2 separate regions of the Homo sapiens genome follow, and region 2 is linked to region 1. The links are contacts of gene promoters, found by promoter capture Hi-C in human tissues and cell types (Jung and others, 2019). All regions are on one chromosome and are shown on one strand. The core of a region is centred on a gene start or on the middle of the fragment in contact, and the rest is flanking DNA. Distances in the headings are between cores, read along the strand shown.

Region 1 (7,022 bases), core at 4,111-6,610:
GTTGACAGGTACAATTCACTTCACTGCCTGAGACCCGCCCCCTTAGCTTCCATTACCTGGGCTTTTCTGACTATTAGGTGTGTGACAGAAGATCAATACTGGCGAGAGATGAATATATGTAATCAACCTAACAGAAGCAAGTTGAAATCCTTTGGTGTGTGGTATCATAAAAGGAGGAAGGTCAATAGGGACACTGGGTCGGACTGAAAAGCAGCCTTGCCCCAAAGCAAATCCTGGCACTTTCCTCTGGCCCACCTTTTCCCTCCAAGCTACAGCACATGGTACCTTTCTCTAGAGCCCAGAGGCTTTATGTTCTCTAGCAAAGTGGTCTGCATCCTTACGTTGATCATAAGTTCAGTGATTATAAAAGTTGAGGTCTTTGGGAAACCCAAGAATTAGAGTCGTGGACTTGAAAGTAAGAAATAGGGAAAACAGCACAGTTATTTCTGACTTTTTGGCTCTACTGTTTATAGTTTTGCCTGTGCAAAGCAATACAAATTCATGTTGTCAGCCAGTGACATAAACAGATTTTTCTTTCCTGAAGCGAATCTGATAATTATGATGTTGTAACATATCTTGCACCACCCAAAACAGTAGATTGAGGATGTCAGGTTTCAGTACAACAAAATGGAACAAGTCTTTTCAGAAAGCACGAACTGTCATTTCAAATGAGACTCTGAAATATGTTGCCACTTACCTACTGATATGGTCCAAACAGCAATGATTTTCAGAAATGCCTTAGTTCTGGAGTTGAAGCGGCTGTGGTGGATGGGATTCTGGATGGCGACGTAGCGGTCCAGCGAGATGGCGCAGAGGTGCATGATGGAGGCCGTGGAGAAGAGCACGTCCAGGTAAATCCAGACTGCACAAAGCTTGCTCGGCAGAGGCCACCGGTACCCTATGAGGCAGAAGGTTGGTGTCAGTGAGCAACCCTGTGCCTCCTGGAGCACATGTATCCCTATCCTATGACAATTTCCAGCTCTGGGACAGGCACAGGTGGTGGCAAAGGGCAACACAATATATTTTTAGTATTTGAAAAAAGCCCACTGGCAACTGTACTTAACTATGATAAGCTAGCACTGGCTGATGAATGCAGGGTTTGAAAATTTCTAGTGTCTGGAGTTATGTGAGTGTGGCACGGTAAGCTTGGATGGTCTCTATTTGGGGGTTCTCTTTCTTCCCCCTTACGCCTGGCAAAACATTTCTTTTGTTAATGGCTTATGTCAAAATTTGTGTTTTGGCTCCTCTTCTGGAGCACCTCTCACACTGTACTGTCAGGATTTAGTCACATATTTCTCTGGATTGTATTTCCCTAAGGTTAGTCTCACCTCTTAGTCATTATTATAACCATCCAGTCCCATACAGTGATGGCAATAAATTGCATTAGTGCAAATGACTAAATGACTAAAAATTCAGATTGTGAATATGTCTGTTTGTAAAAATGAAAAATAATGATCTAATAATGCTTTGGGTGCCAAACTCAAATTTGGGGTATGTGTAGGGAGAGCTGAAGACAAGGGTGAAGAAAAATAAAGAAAGGTGTCCTTGCTCTGAGCTTTGTTTTAGGGAGGCATTTCTCAAACTTTAGTGAGCATCAGACTCTGCCACACCTCTTAAAACACACACTGCTGGACCTCCGTCCAGAGGTTCTGATGCAGTTAGTAGGGAGCAGGCTGTAGAATTTGCATCTGAATTAGCAAGCTCCCGGGTGATGCTGATGCTGCTGGTCCAGGGACCACGCTTTGTGAATAGCTGCTTTAGGGTAGTGGCTCTCACCCCTGGCTGCACATCAGTATCAGCTGGAGAGCTTTAGAGAAGGTCCTGATGCCCATGCCAAACCCAGCCCAATTAAATCATGTTTGGAGGGTGGGCTGAGGTGGACATCAAATGTCAAAGCGTTTGCAAAGCTTTTTCCAAGCTCCCCAGACAATTCCAATGTAAGAGATACTGCAGGTCACCTGCTATATGAGGAAGGTTAGAGTGTGCTTTATGGACATAAACAAAGTGTCCTGGTTTTGTGTTTTGGAGGGGGATTAAGCAGTTATGTAAACCTTAATTAGTTTTGATCACAGTATAAGCAGCGGAGTTAGATCTGCCTGCATGTAAGAAGGAAAATTTTAAAGTCCACTTTTCTTATTACAGACCCACAAAGCCGAACAAACTCCAACGCAAACGTACACTCTCTACCAAAATGCCACAAGGGATATTTAGACAAGTAAAGGGCGTAGGTACAAGCCTAATTTACAGCCATTCACATGTATTATTTGCAAAGAGCTTGAGCCGAAAGGAAAGCCTTTTCCTTTGCAGCGCCTTATGGGGGAAGCCACGCTCTGTCTGTTCGGAACAGATGTCGGCCCTCGGAGGGGTTTCTCTGCCAGGAGGCGGCCCAGGCCTCAGTCCGTGTTTCTGATGCGGGATAAGGAGGGGGCATTTCCTTGTGGGAGAAGCCCCATGCCCCACGCCCCGTGGGCTGGGGGAGGCTGGAGGAGCAGCCTAGGGAGGGGCGGGGCTCCGGAGGGAACGGGCTGCTCTCAGAGCGGCGGCCGCCAGGGGGCGCCCTTGCTCCCCAAGCGGGTGACGCCGGGGGTCACCCCACCCTCCAGCCTCTGTTTTGGGTCCCGCTCTGTCACTCCTCCTACCCCCACTGGAGTTTGCCCCCTAGGGGAGGGGGTTTGGGAAGCGAGAATCTTCCCCGGGATGCCGGGGAAAGGGCAGGCAAATTAAATGAAATCATTCCGGTGTGGCATTTAAATGGTCAAGTGAAGGCTGGACTTGGAATGAGTGTTACTAGCTTTGTGCAAACTGGCGCCTGCTCGCCCTTGCGTACCGCCTTCCTCCTTCACATTCTCTAGGGCTGGGTTGATGTTTTTTAATCTTAGCCCCTAAGACTTGACCAGAAAATTTCCCTTTAAAGATAGCTATCATAACCTGTCTCTAAGCTCTGAGTGACTGCTGCTTGTGCCTGTGTCAGCAGTCACAATAGTCTCTCCTTTAAGGAGGTATCTGGCTGTATTACTCATAATTTGGAAAGAATATCACATTCTGGTCCCTTGCTGAGAGGTCTGACTGTTTCAAACTCTGTTGAGAAGAAAGCAAGATTAATCCCTTCCCATTTGTTTCCCACCCTCCTCCAAACCAGACTGGAGGAGTTTATGCATATGCATTTTCAAAGAGTTGAGGATATAATTCAAAGGCACATTTCCAAATTAGCTTCTCTGGGCAGGGAACAATTAAAACTGGAGTAATTCATTTATTCTAATTGAGGTTCTGCATATTTTAACATAAAACCTATTGCACCACTAATGTTCTCTCTGCAAATGTTCCAAAGTAATTGGGAAGGCTTTATCACTCCATTAAAAGTGCTGAAAACTGTGTGACAAAGATTAAAACTGTTCTGTCCTGAAGGCTGGAATATTGGTTGGGAATATAAAGAAGCAAAAATCAAGTAGATTCAGAATGATGGGTAAGTTATTGGTTTATGACTGTATGGGGTAATTTATAAAAATTTCTACATTAAATGTACATGTTTTGAAGCACAAAACTCTCCAATGATCATTTTTACACAGGATGTACGCGTTTTGAAGCACAAAACTCTCCAGTGATCACAGGTCATAGACTGTCTGATTTTTATGTGAAATCCCATTTTAAGAGTAAAATATAAGTAACATAGTAGGCTCTAGTCTATAAACAAAGACTTCTATTTATAGTTTGTTTGCCCCCTGAGCCCCATCTCATCTGCTGGTGGCATGCACATGCTCTTTATTACCAGTGCGAATATAGCTGGGAAACTAATGCCACTCACCATACAGGATGGTTAACATGGACACGGGCATGACAAGGAAACCCAGCAGCATATCAGCTATGGCAAGTGACATCAGGAAATAGTTGGTGGCATTCTGCAGCTTTTTCTCTAGGGACACTGCCATGATGACGAGTATGTTTCCAGCAATAGTTAGAATAATCACTACGGCTGTCAGTAAAGCAGACCAGTTTTTTTCCTGGAGATGAAGTAAGGAGAGACACGACGGTGAGAGGCACCCTTCACAGGAAAGGTTGGTTCGATTTTCAGAGTCGACTGTCCAGTTAAATGCATCAGAAGTGTTAGCTTCTCCGGAGTTAAAGTCATTACTGTAGAGCCTGGTGTCATCATTTAATTGCATTAGGGAGTTCGTAGTTGAGCTCAAAGAAGTATTTTCTTCACAAAGAATATCCATGTCTAAGCCAGAACTTGTAGCAGATGAGGTGTAGAAGGACTAACAGGTTATAGTTTCTGCTCACCATTCACCTTGATGTACCCACACTCTGTAACACTGAGGCTGGTGTACATGCTGTTCTCCCGGGGCTGGATTTTTGTCTTCCATTATTACAATGATAGTTAAAGAACTGAACTGTGGTGGCTGTAAGTTTTCTTCATTCACAATTTTAGGAGAGTCCACTGTTTGGTTTTATTATTTTCTCACCAAACCGAGGACAAAAAAGCAGAATGAACTTTTAGCATAGAGGTTGCAGGGTTTTTTTTGAGCGCTCGGGAAGATAAATGTCCTGGACAAAGAAGAAAAGTTTTATAACTACTGGGACTCTTGTTTAACTATATCTCATTTTGTTGGTTATGCCGATGGTACTAGTTTAGCAACAGTATTATTAAAATAGCATGCAATCAGAAACAGTGGGGATGTACACATTCTACATTAAGAAAGTCAATTAAAAATACATCCAGTGTTAATCCCATAGTAATTGGATGTACTTTGGGTTACAGTTCTCAGCCATTCTTAAGCTGAATTGCCACAGCTGCTGTCAGGAATTTCAGCTCCTATAATGTTGCTTAGCTAATAAAAGGAAAACAAAAAAGTCTTAAGTAAAGATTAGCAGACAACTTTCCTCCCTGGAAATTCTCATTGAAATGATTACATGTTGGCCAAGCATGATTTCAAACCGGAAAGAAAATTACACAGCAATAAAATATAGCGGCATGAGAACTTACATTTGTCTTCAGGGTCCACACATGAGATACATTTGTTATTCTGTGACTCGCTGCATCTCTCACAGTAATTAAACTGGTGTAGAGTCCCCTCTTCTTGATCTTCCACCAGCATAATATGATAGTAATTTGGTTTCTGTTTTGCTGACTTCAAAAACTGCATGCAAGAGCTGAGCCAGCTCCCGCACTGCTAGGATCCTGTTGGCTTCCTCTGGCACGGCTCGGCTGGGTTCCTCCCTCCCTGTGCGGCTCGCCTCAGCAGGCACACATTTAGAAATCATTCACGAGCCCCTCAAAGTCGCACAAAAGAACTGCATGGGAAAGTAGGAAGAGCTGTCTGCACCAAGGGACTCCTGGTTTCCACGGGAATGGAGTAGCTCTCTGACTGTCTCGTTCATTTCATCAGACCTCCCTCTATGTGTATGTCATAAGCTGCAAGGTAGCAACAGCCAGGAGGGCGGACCAAACAGGCTTTTTCTTCTCCCTCTTTTTGCTACATATTAATATTGGGAAGTTTTCCTTTGCTTTTGAGAGAAACTGGAGAAATGGCCTTTTGTGCAGATTCCCATTAAGGTAGGTAAGTGGCACTGTGGTAATTTTTTAGGCTGAAGGGTGAAGAGAGAACATAAATAAGGCTAGAAAACAGTATGTCCTCGGAGTGCTGTGAGTGTCCGGCACTTCCATCCAAAGCCAACAGTGTTTGTGTCCAGAGTGGAATTACTGACATTGGCCACATAGGCTCAGGGTGGCTAGGCACGTCTGTGGTGATAACTCTGATAAACTATTAGCACTATTTTTATTTAATAGATACACCATTGAACTGGCTTATTTTCTTCAGCAGAAATATGCCACCCAGATATTATTCAAAACCTCACATGTGGTAGGAAATAAGTTGGTTTCGCAGTACCAATTTTTTTCCCCCACCAGTAATGACAACTTGCCTTACTTGTAAAGAAAGCCCTTTCCCAAGTAGGTTTCTAAAGGAGGCAGTTCGATCTCTCTCTTTTTGCAGGCATGAAAATATTTTCCTCAATAGTTGGGTTTTGCTACAGTTCTATCACCTTCTGTTCTTCACATTCTCCCTGGACAAATTCAACCACTCTCATGCCTTCAATATGTTTGTGGCCAAGTCTGTACCTTCATAGCTGATTATTTCTCTCAGTTCCAGACCTAAATCTCTAGCTGCCCATTGGCTCCTTCCATGGTAGCCTGGGAGACCTTGACCTCAGCATCTTCCCTCACTCCGCATCCCCCTGCCCGGCTCTCAGTGCTTGTTCCTACCCATTGGCTTGCATGATGGAATCACCACCTCTTCAGACAGCTGCTGTTATCCGCGACTCTTCCTTCATTCTCGCTGCCAGATCCCACTTCGTCTCCGGTGCTACCTCTGTATGCGTGTTTCTCACATGTCCTCTCCTGCAGCCTGCAGCTGGCACCCTGTGGTCGAGATCTAGCCACCTATTTCCTGGGTGGGTGCCTTAGTGCCCCCCTCACTGCCATGCCTGCCACCCTCCTACCCCTCCACGTTAAATATGCACGCTGGCGAGCAGGCAGCGGAGAACACAGACCTTAGAGTTCCTTGGTTTTGGATCCTAGCTCTATCACTCATAAACAGTAGAACCTCGCCTCATCTAGTTGCTCCCTTTAAAGCTCAGTCTTCTCACTTGTAAAATGGGATAATACCTTCCTCATAAGATTGTAGTGAAGCTAAACTGAGATAATGTGTGTAAGTATTTGGCCCATGTCTGGCTTATAGGAGGTTCTCAAGTAATGTCAGCCACTTTCATTCCTATTGATATTCTTACTGATATTAATGACACAATTGGCATCACTCCCATGCCTACACTCCTGCAGTCCCTTCCTTGTGGGGCACATAACACTTTTCTTCATCTACCTGTACCCTGCTTGCCCCACTTTGCAGGCCTGGACTCTGGTTACTCTCCCAGTCAGCCTGTATGCAGACTGAACTTACATGTTTCTGACCATTTTTATGTCTCTGTACTTGTACTTCCCTGTGCCCGGAGTGCTCTTACCATTCCTTTTT
Region 2 (6,887 bases), core at 3,706-6,205, 1.0 Mb after region 1:
TGGCATTAGTTAACTACCAAGTTTTATGCAGTGAGCAAAAGGTCAATATGTATATATACACACACACATATATTTACATATATGGACAAAAAGAACCATGTGACTACAATCTGTCTAAAAATATCCACCTGTTACCATATAAAACATCATACAGACTTTGGGAGTCCGAGGCGGGCAGATCACGAGATCAGGAGATCAAGACCATCCTGGCTAACTCGGTGAAACCCTGCCTCTACTAAAAATACAAAAAATGAGCTGGGTGTGGTGGCAGGCGCCTGTAGTCCCAGCTACTCGGGAGGCTGAGGCAGGAGAATGGTGTGAACCCCAGAGGCGGAGCTTGCAGTGAGCTGAGATCGTGCAACAGCACTCCAGCCTGGGCAACAGAGCGAGACTCCATCTCAAAACAAAAACAAAAACAAAAACATCATACAAATTTAGACATGTCCAAGACCAAAAAATAAACTCAGCTTCTCTCTTCCTCAGTAAAATAGTTAAGAAAAGGCTTTGAAGTTAGGCATCTTGGATTCAATTCTCCCCTCTGTTTCCTTTAGAGGATATACTAGATGGCATACACATAAATAGCAGACTTCCAGTGAACTATCTATCTATAAGTAGCTGTATAATATGTATGGTTGGCTGGGTGCAGTAGTTCATACATGTAATCTCAACATTTTGGGAGGCAAAGCCAGGAGGATTGCTTGAGCTCAGGAGTAAGAGACCAGCCTAAGCAACATAGTGATACCCTGTCCCTACCAAAAAAAAAACAAAAATCAAAAACAAAAAAAAACACATATGTTTTTTTGTGGTGTGTGCCTGTAGTCCCTGCTACTTAGGAGGCTCAGGTGGGAGGACTGCTTGAGCCCAGGAGGCAGAGGTTGCAGTGAGCATGATCATACCACTGCACTCCAGCTTGGGTGACAGAGTGAGACCCTGACTCAAAAAAAAAAACAAATCACTGTCATGGCAAGTATATGATCTAAGAATTGGTGCTTAGACCTCTATACTGCAATAACGAACAAATCAACTTCTACTGTGTTTACCTCAAAACAAGCAAACAAAAGCCATGAACCCAAATCATATTGGGAGATTTTTATTAACTTAAATTGACATTCTTAATTTTGTCTGTAAGTCCTTGGTATATATGCCTTTATTTGAAGCAAACCTACAGGTGTTTCTTAATATGACAGAATCATGAAGACTTGCAGTTAATCAGTGTTTCCTAATGATTAAAACAATGTTCAAATAATTACAAAGTTACTTCATCAAAATACTTAGAAGAATATTCTGAGGAGTGTTTGAAAGCTCTGTTTATAAATAGTGATTGATACATTTATCATGTATTTGGTGCTGAAGATAAACACTTTTTACATAAAACATTGTTTTAATATACTGCTCTACTAATGAGGCTAGTTATTAGATATACTGTATTTTAACACTAAAGAATAAAGCTTTATCTTCGTATTTATCTTATTTATAGGACTCTTATCAATGAAGAACTTTGTATCCAACAATAATAAACTGGCAAATTGCAAGTTACGTTTTGTAGGAGAAGCAAAAAAGACTGGCTGCGACAAAAGAAAGAAGATAACTGCATTATACATGCTTCGTACAAACAGTCCATTCTGAATGGTACAATTAAATGCAGTCCAAATCCTTTTAAATGTTTGTGTGCCTAGATGGCAATTACAATCTCCACACACTAAAAAGAAAAAGAACAATAACACAGAACACAGTATTCTTAATGATTATAGCACATTTAACACCTTCAGCCATCCACTGGGTTTTCAGATCATATTGGCAACTGAAATTTCACATCCACATGTGCTTGCTTCGCTAAGGTCACTATTTCAGAGAGCTTTACAACCTAAAAGAAAAGAACGAAGAATTTTCACAAAAAGGTAAATTCAGAACTACAGGTCAGTGCAAAATTAATGTACACTCAATTTTTTCCATTTAAAACATCTGGACTATTCTGACATTGCTATAAATCACATTACGTTCTTATAAGCAAATGACATTCTCAAAGGATAATCAAGTCTGACACTCCTCATAGTCCAAACTTCAATTAAATACTTTCTGATTAAGATGTTATACCACCTGCTAGGATTACACATATGTATTACATAAGATTATATATGTGTGTATAAAATGTGTGTGTATGTATGTGTGTGTGTGTGTGTGTGTGTATATATATATATATTATTCTAAATTTTATCTTAAAGACAGAAACAGTGAGTGTCTTTGTTGGATACTCCACAACTCAAAGCACATCTAAGTAAAAATTTGTTTTGAAATAAGTATACAATCTTAACTTAAAATGTTGGGATAGAAATTTGGGTCTACTAGTTAGTATTTTACTTTTTGTCAGTAAGTTAACAATTGCTAACCTGAGTTCCAATTCTCTCTACAATCTGTCTAAAAATATCCACCAGTTACCATACAAAACATCATACAAATTTAGACATGTCTAAGACCAAAAAAACAAACTCAGCTTCTCTCTTCCTCAGTAAATTAGTTAAGAAAAGGCTTTGAAGTTAGATATCTTTGGCTGCAAATCCCCCCTCTGATGCTTATGACATACAACCTTGAATAAGTTAACTTATCTAGCCTGTTTCTTCATCTATAAAAATGGAAATTTTATCACCAAATTCATATTAAATGAGATAATCCTTGAAGAAAACAGCTTAGCATTGCATGCACAGTAAACACTCAATAAACAGTAGTAACTGCTAATATCATCATCATCTCATTCAATATTATTATTGTTATGACTTCTATAATCTCCCAGTCAATAAAAACACTGTAGTCATAATTTAAATCAACTGTTCACTTTTACCTCTCATGATCTATTTGATCAAGGTCCTACTGGTTCTTCTCCTTCTTTTCATGTCCTCCAAGCTTTTCTTAATTTAAGTTTTCATTCCAAAAAAGTGCACTTTCAGAGACAAGTTATAACCTATTTATTACCTTCACCTTTTCTCATATCTAAGTATTGCACTAGATGGACTCCTACTATCTCTCCCCTTTTCCCTTCAATATATCCCACATCTCAAAGTCAAAATAGGCTTTCTGAAATACTTTCTCCTACTATTCCCTTGCTCAAATTCTTTATTTTTAATTCAGGTTTAAGTTTAAATTCTTCTGTCTCCAAGCTAGAGTTAAATTTTGTTTACTAGTAAGTACTTTCCCAAAGAAGGACATAAGACTTTTATTATTTTTGTGAAATGACATCACATTAACTCGGTAAATTCAAGAGTCTGGCCAAGCCTGGGGGCTCATGCTTGTAATCCCAGCACTTTGGAAGGCCGAGGTGGGAGGATCATATGAGGTCTGGAGTTCGAGACCAGCCTGGTCAACATGGCAAAACCCTATCTCTACTAAAAATACAAGGCTGGGCGCAGTGGCTCACACCTGAATCCCAGCACTTTGGGAGGCCGAGGCAGGTGGATCACAAAGTCAGGGGTTCAAGACCAGCCTGACCAACATGGTGAAACCGCATCTCTACTAAAAATACATAATTAGCCAGGCATGGTGGTACATGCCTGTAATCCCAGCTGCTTGGGAGGCTGAGGCAGGAGGATTGCTTGAACCTGGGAGATGGAGGTTGCAGTGAGCCGAGATCACACCACTGCACTCCAGCCTGGGCAACAAGACCAAAACTCTGTCTTAAAAAAAAAAAAAAAAAAAAAAAATTAGCTGGGCGTGGTGGCACACACCTGTAGTCTCAGCTACTCAGAAGGCTGAGACACAAGAATTGCTTAAACCCAGGAGGCAAAGGTTACAGTGAGCTGAGATCACGCCACTGTACTCCAGCCTAGGTGACAGAGCAAGACTCAGTCTCAAAAAAAAAAAAAAAAAAAAAATCAAGAATCTACTATTGATTAAGCTATAGAGCCCAAAGAGTGTTCGAGTGTTCAATGAAATGTCTATAAACATAATGGAAGGGAAGACAAAAAATTCTCATCTCTCTGTATCTACTATGAAGTGTTCTCTGATACACATTATTGTTAAGTAAAAGAAACAAAGTATAGATTACCATTAATCTAAAGTGGGAAAAGGGAGACACACACACACACACACACACACACACACACACACACACACAAAGTCCCCCCCTTATCCAATTTCACTTTCTACAGTTTCAGTTACCTGCAGTCAACTGTGGTCCAAAAATTTTAAATGAGAAATTCCAGAAATAAAAAAGTCATTAAGTTTTAAACTGTGTGTTGTTCTGAGAAGTGTGATGAAATCTTGCACCATCCTGCTCCAAGTGGAATGTGAACCATCTCTTTGCCCAGCGTATCCACGCTGTATAAACTACTCTTCCATTAGTCATCAACATTATCTACTCTTGACATCCAACAATCAACATCATGGCTCAATGATCCAGGATGAACCAAAGCAGATGATTCTCCTTCTGTTACATCATTAGGTCAGTAGTAGCCTAACACTATGTCACAATGCCTTCATCATTCACCTCAGTTCATCTCACCAAGTAAGCATTTTATCATCTCATTATCACCACAAAGGTGAGTATAGAACAATAAGATATTTTGAGAGACCACATTCACATTTATCACGGTATATTGTTATAATTGTTCTACTTTATTATTAGTTGTTGTTAATCTGTTACTATGTCTAATACATAAACTTTATCAAAGGAATATATGTACAGGAAGAAGCACAGTATATACAGGTTTGGAACTATCTGTGATTCAGGCACCCACTAGGGGTCTTGCAACACATTCCCTGCAGATAAGGGGGGACTACTGCACACATACATATAGTTATATACATACAATTAGCTTATGTTTTTAAGAAGTGGAAAGATAAACCAAAACTTTCTTAAAAAACAAACAAAAAAAAAAGGTAAAAAGGTTGCCTGTTGGGGAAGAAGTAAAGAGGGAAATATATAAAAGCTAGATTCCCTGATAATACCTTGTTCTATACTTTCCACTTTGGAATCATGTAAATACAAAATAAAAAACAAAAGGTTGTGTTTTTTTTTTTTTAAAAAAAGCAATCCCTTTAAAAACAATGAAACTATACAAAGCTGAGACAAAACACACAGAGAATTATTTCACATGAATTTTAAAATCCACTAAGTTGTGGGACATACCCTAAAGGACAGAAAGAAATGCAGATATAATTGCTTTCAGTAATCAGACTGTTGGTATTCTTATTATAAAACTGTCATATCTGTACTAAGGGACAAAGCAAATGAATAATTATGATAGTATGGCATGAACGAAGGTACAAACAGATGTCAGATAAGAAAAAAAAATCTATACTCCTGGACTTGCATTGAAAATATCAGTATGAACTCAAGTATTACCTCTTTAAAAAATACATGTTTTCTCAGACTTGCCACTTAAAAAGCTCAGAAACAATAATCAACCCAGTATCTATGAATACTCATAAGGCCAAATTGTGCTCTCTAAATACCATTTGGCCCATTCAAGTTCTGACTCAAGAAACGTAAAGATGAGCCTGAAACATTTTATCATACCAGATAGAGGGCTTCTCAGAAGGATGCAACAGTTAACCTGAAGAGGTTCCCAAAGACCAAAGGTTGGACAATTTCAATCACAACTTACATGAACTGAACTACATCAATGTTTTAAGTCATAAGTTCAAAACAGTATGCCAGTGGAACACACATGTGTATGCATGTGTATGCACACACGCACAATACACACACACACACACACACACACACCTGAAAACAAAAAGTAAACAAAATACAAAAAAAACAAAAAACAAAAAAAACCCTAGGTCACCTTTATTGGACATAATAGAACAAACATTATTTTGAAAATTGGTCAATAAAGGCAAATAATCAGGTAATTATCCTACTTTTCCTATGCAAAATGTACTCCATGGTAACAAATGGTTGACACGTGGAAGTATTACTTTTTAGAAGCATTACATATAATAAGTGAAGAATGACAGAATTACAATAGCAACGCTTTGCAACACAAACAAAATACTGGATCTAAGCTATGATGTCAATGGCTAGTAATACCACAAAAAGATTAACATTGTATACGTTTTGATGAAATTAAACACCTACTATGAAATATTCTTGTTCCCTGCTCCCCAAAATCAAATATGAATATGGTCAAGCCTACAGACTGAACTCCCAGTTTACAGGAAATACACAAGGCAGAGAACACAGAGAGGGCAGAGAACACAGTAAATGAATGACAGCCTAAAGATGCAACCATTAAAATCCAGACTATGAGAAACTTAACAAGACCATCAACCTGGATTTTTCAACAAATAAACCACAGAAAATACTTTTCTTTTTAAAAGGGGAAACCAACAGATTAAGAAACTTACTGACATATTAACCAACTACAATGCAGAGACTTATTCTGACCCTTACAAAGAACTTAAACAAAAGATATAAGAGACTCAGAAATTTCAACAGACTGTATTTTTATAAAACATAACCATAATACCATTACCCCACCTAAAACAAGTAACAGTAATTTTTTTATACCATTATCAATACCTTTATCTTTTACAGATGCATGATGAAATGTATGAAATGATATAATGTCTGGGATTTGCTTGAAAATAATCACAGTTGTGGGAGGAAGTAAGAATACAGACAAAACAACAAACAAGATTGGGCAGGAGCTGACCGTTGTTTAAGATGATCACAGATATAAGACGTTCTGACAAAGATTCTCTCCTTGACCAAACTCTCTTTTGTTTTTTCAATATATATTTATCGAATATATAGATAGATACACACACATACATACATATGCGTGCATGTGTGTGTGCGTGCATGTGTGTGTGCGCACATGTGTGAAGATAGGGTCTCCCTATGTTGCCCAGGCTAGTCTCAAACTCCTGGACTCAAGCAATCCTCCTGC

Evidence for each region. Contacts are between HindIII fragments. The study calls those that stand out against the background at their distance.
Region 2: a fragment that was not itself captured here is called in contact with the fragment with the promoter of HTR2A in region 1 in 1 of the 25 tissues and cell types used here (dorsolateral prefrontal cortex).

The regions. Positions count from the first base shown.
Region 1 is chr13:46,891,693-46,898,714 of GRCh38, forward strand. It overlaps HTR2A (5-hydroxytryptamine receptor 2A), which reads right to left and starts at 5,361. Exons shown (of 4, transcript NM_000621.5): 1 at 4,982-5,361; 2 at 3,803-4,542; 3 at 698-898. The coding sequence starts at 4,214. RefSeq lists a silencer at 2,462-2,671. The HindIII fragment of the contact is 6,478 bases long and covers 1,527-7,022 here.
Region 2 is chr13:47,941,582-47,948,468 of GRCh38, forward strand. It overlaps SUCLA2 (succinate-CoA ligase ADP-forming subunit beta), which reads right to left. Exons shown (of 11, transcript NM_003850.3): 11 at 1,075-1,864. The coding sequence ends at 1,790. Among named protein-coding and RNA genes, the nearest start is that of LINC00562, 12 kb to the left of the region's middle. The HindIII fragment of the contact is 5,565 bases long and covers 2,174-6,887 here.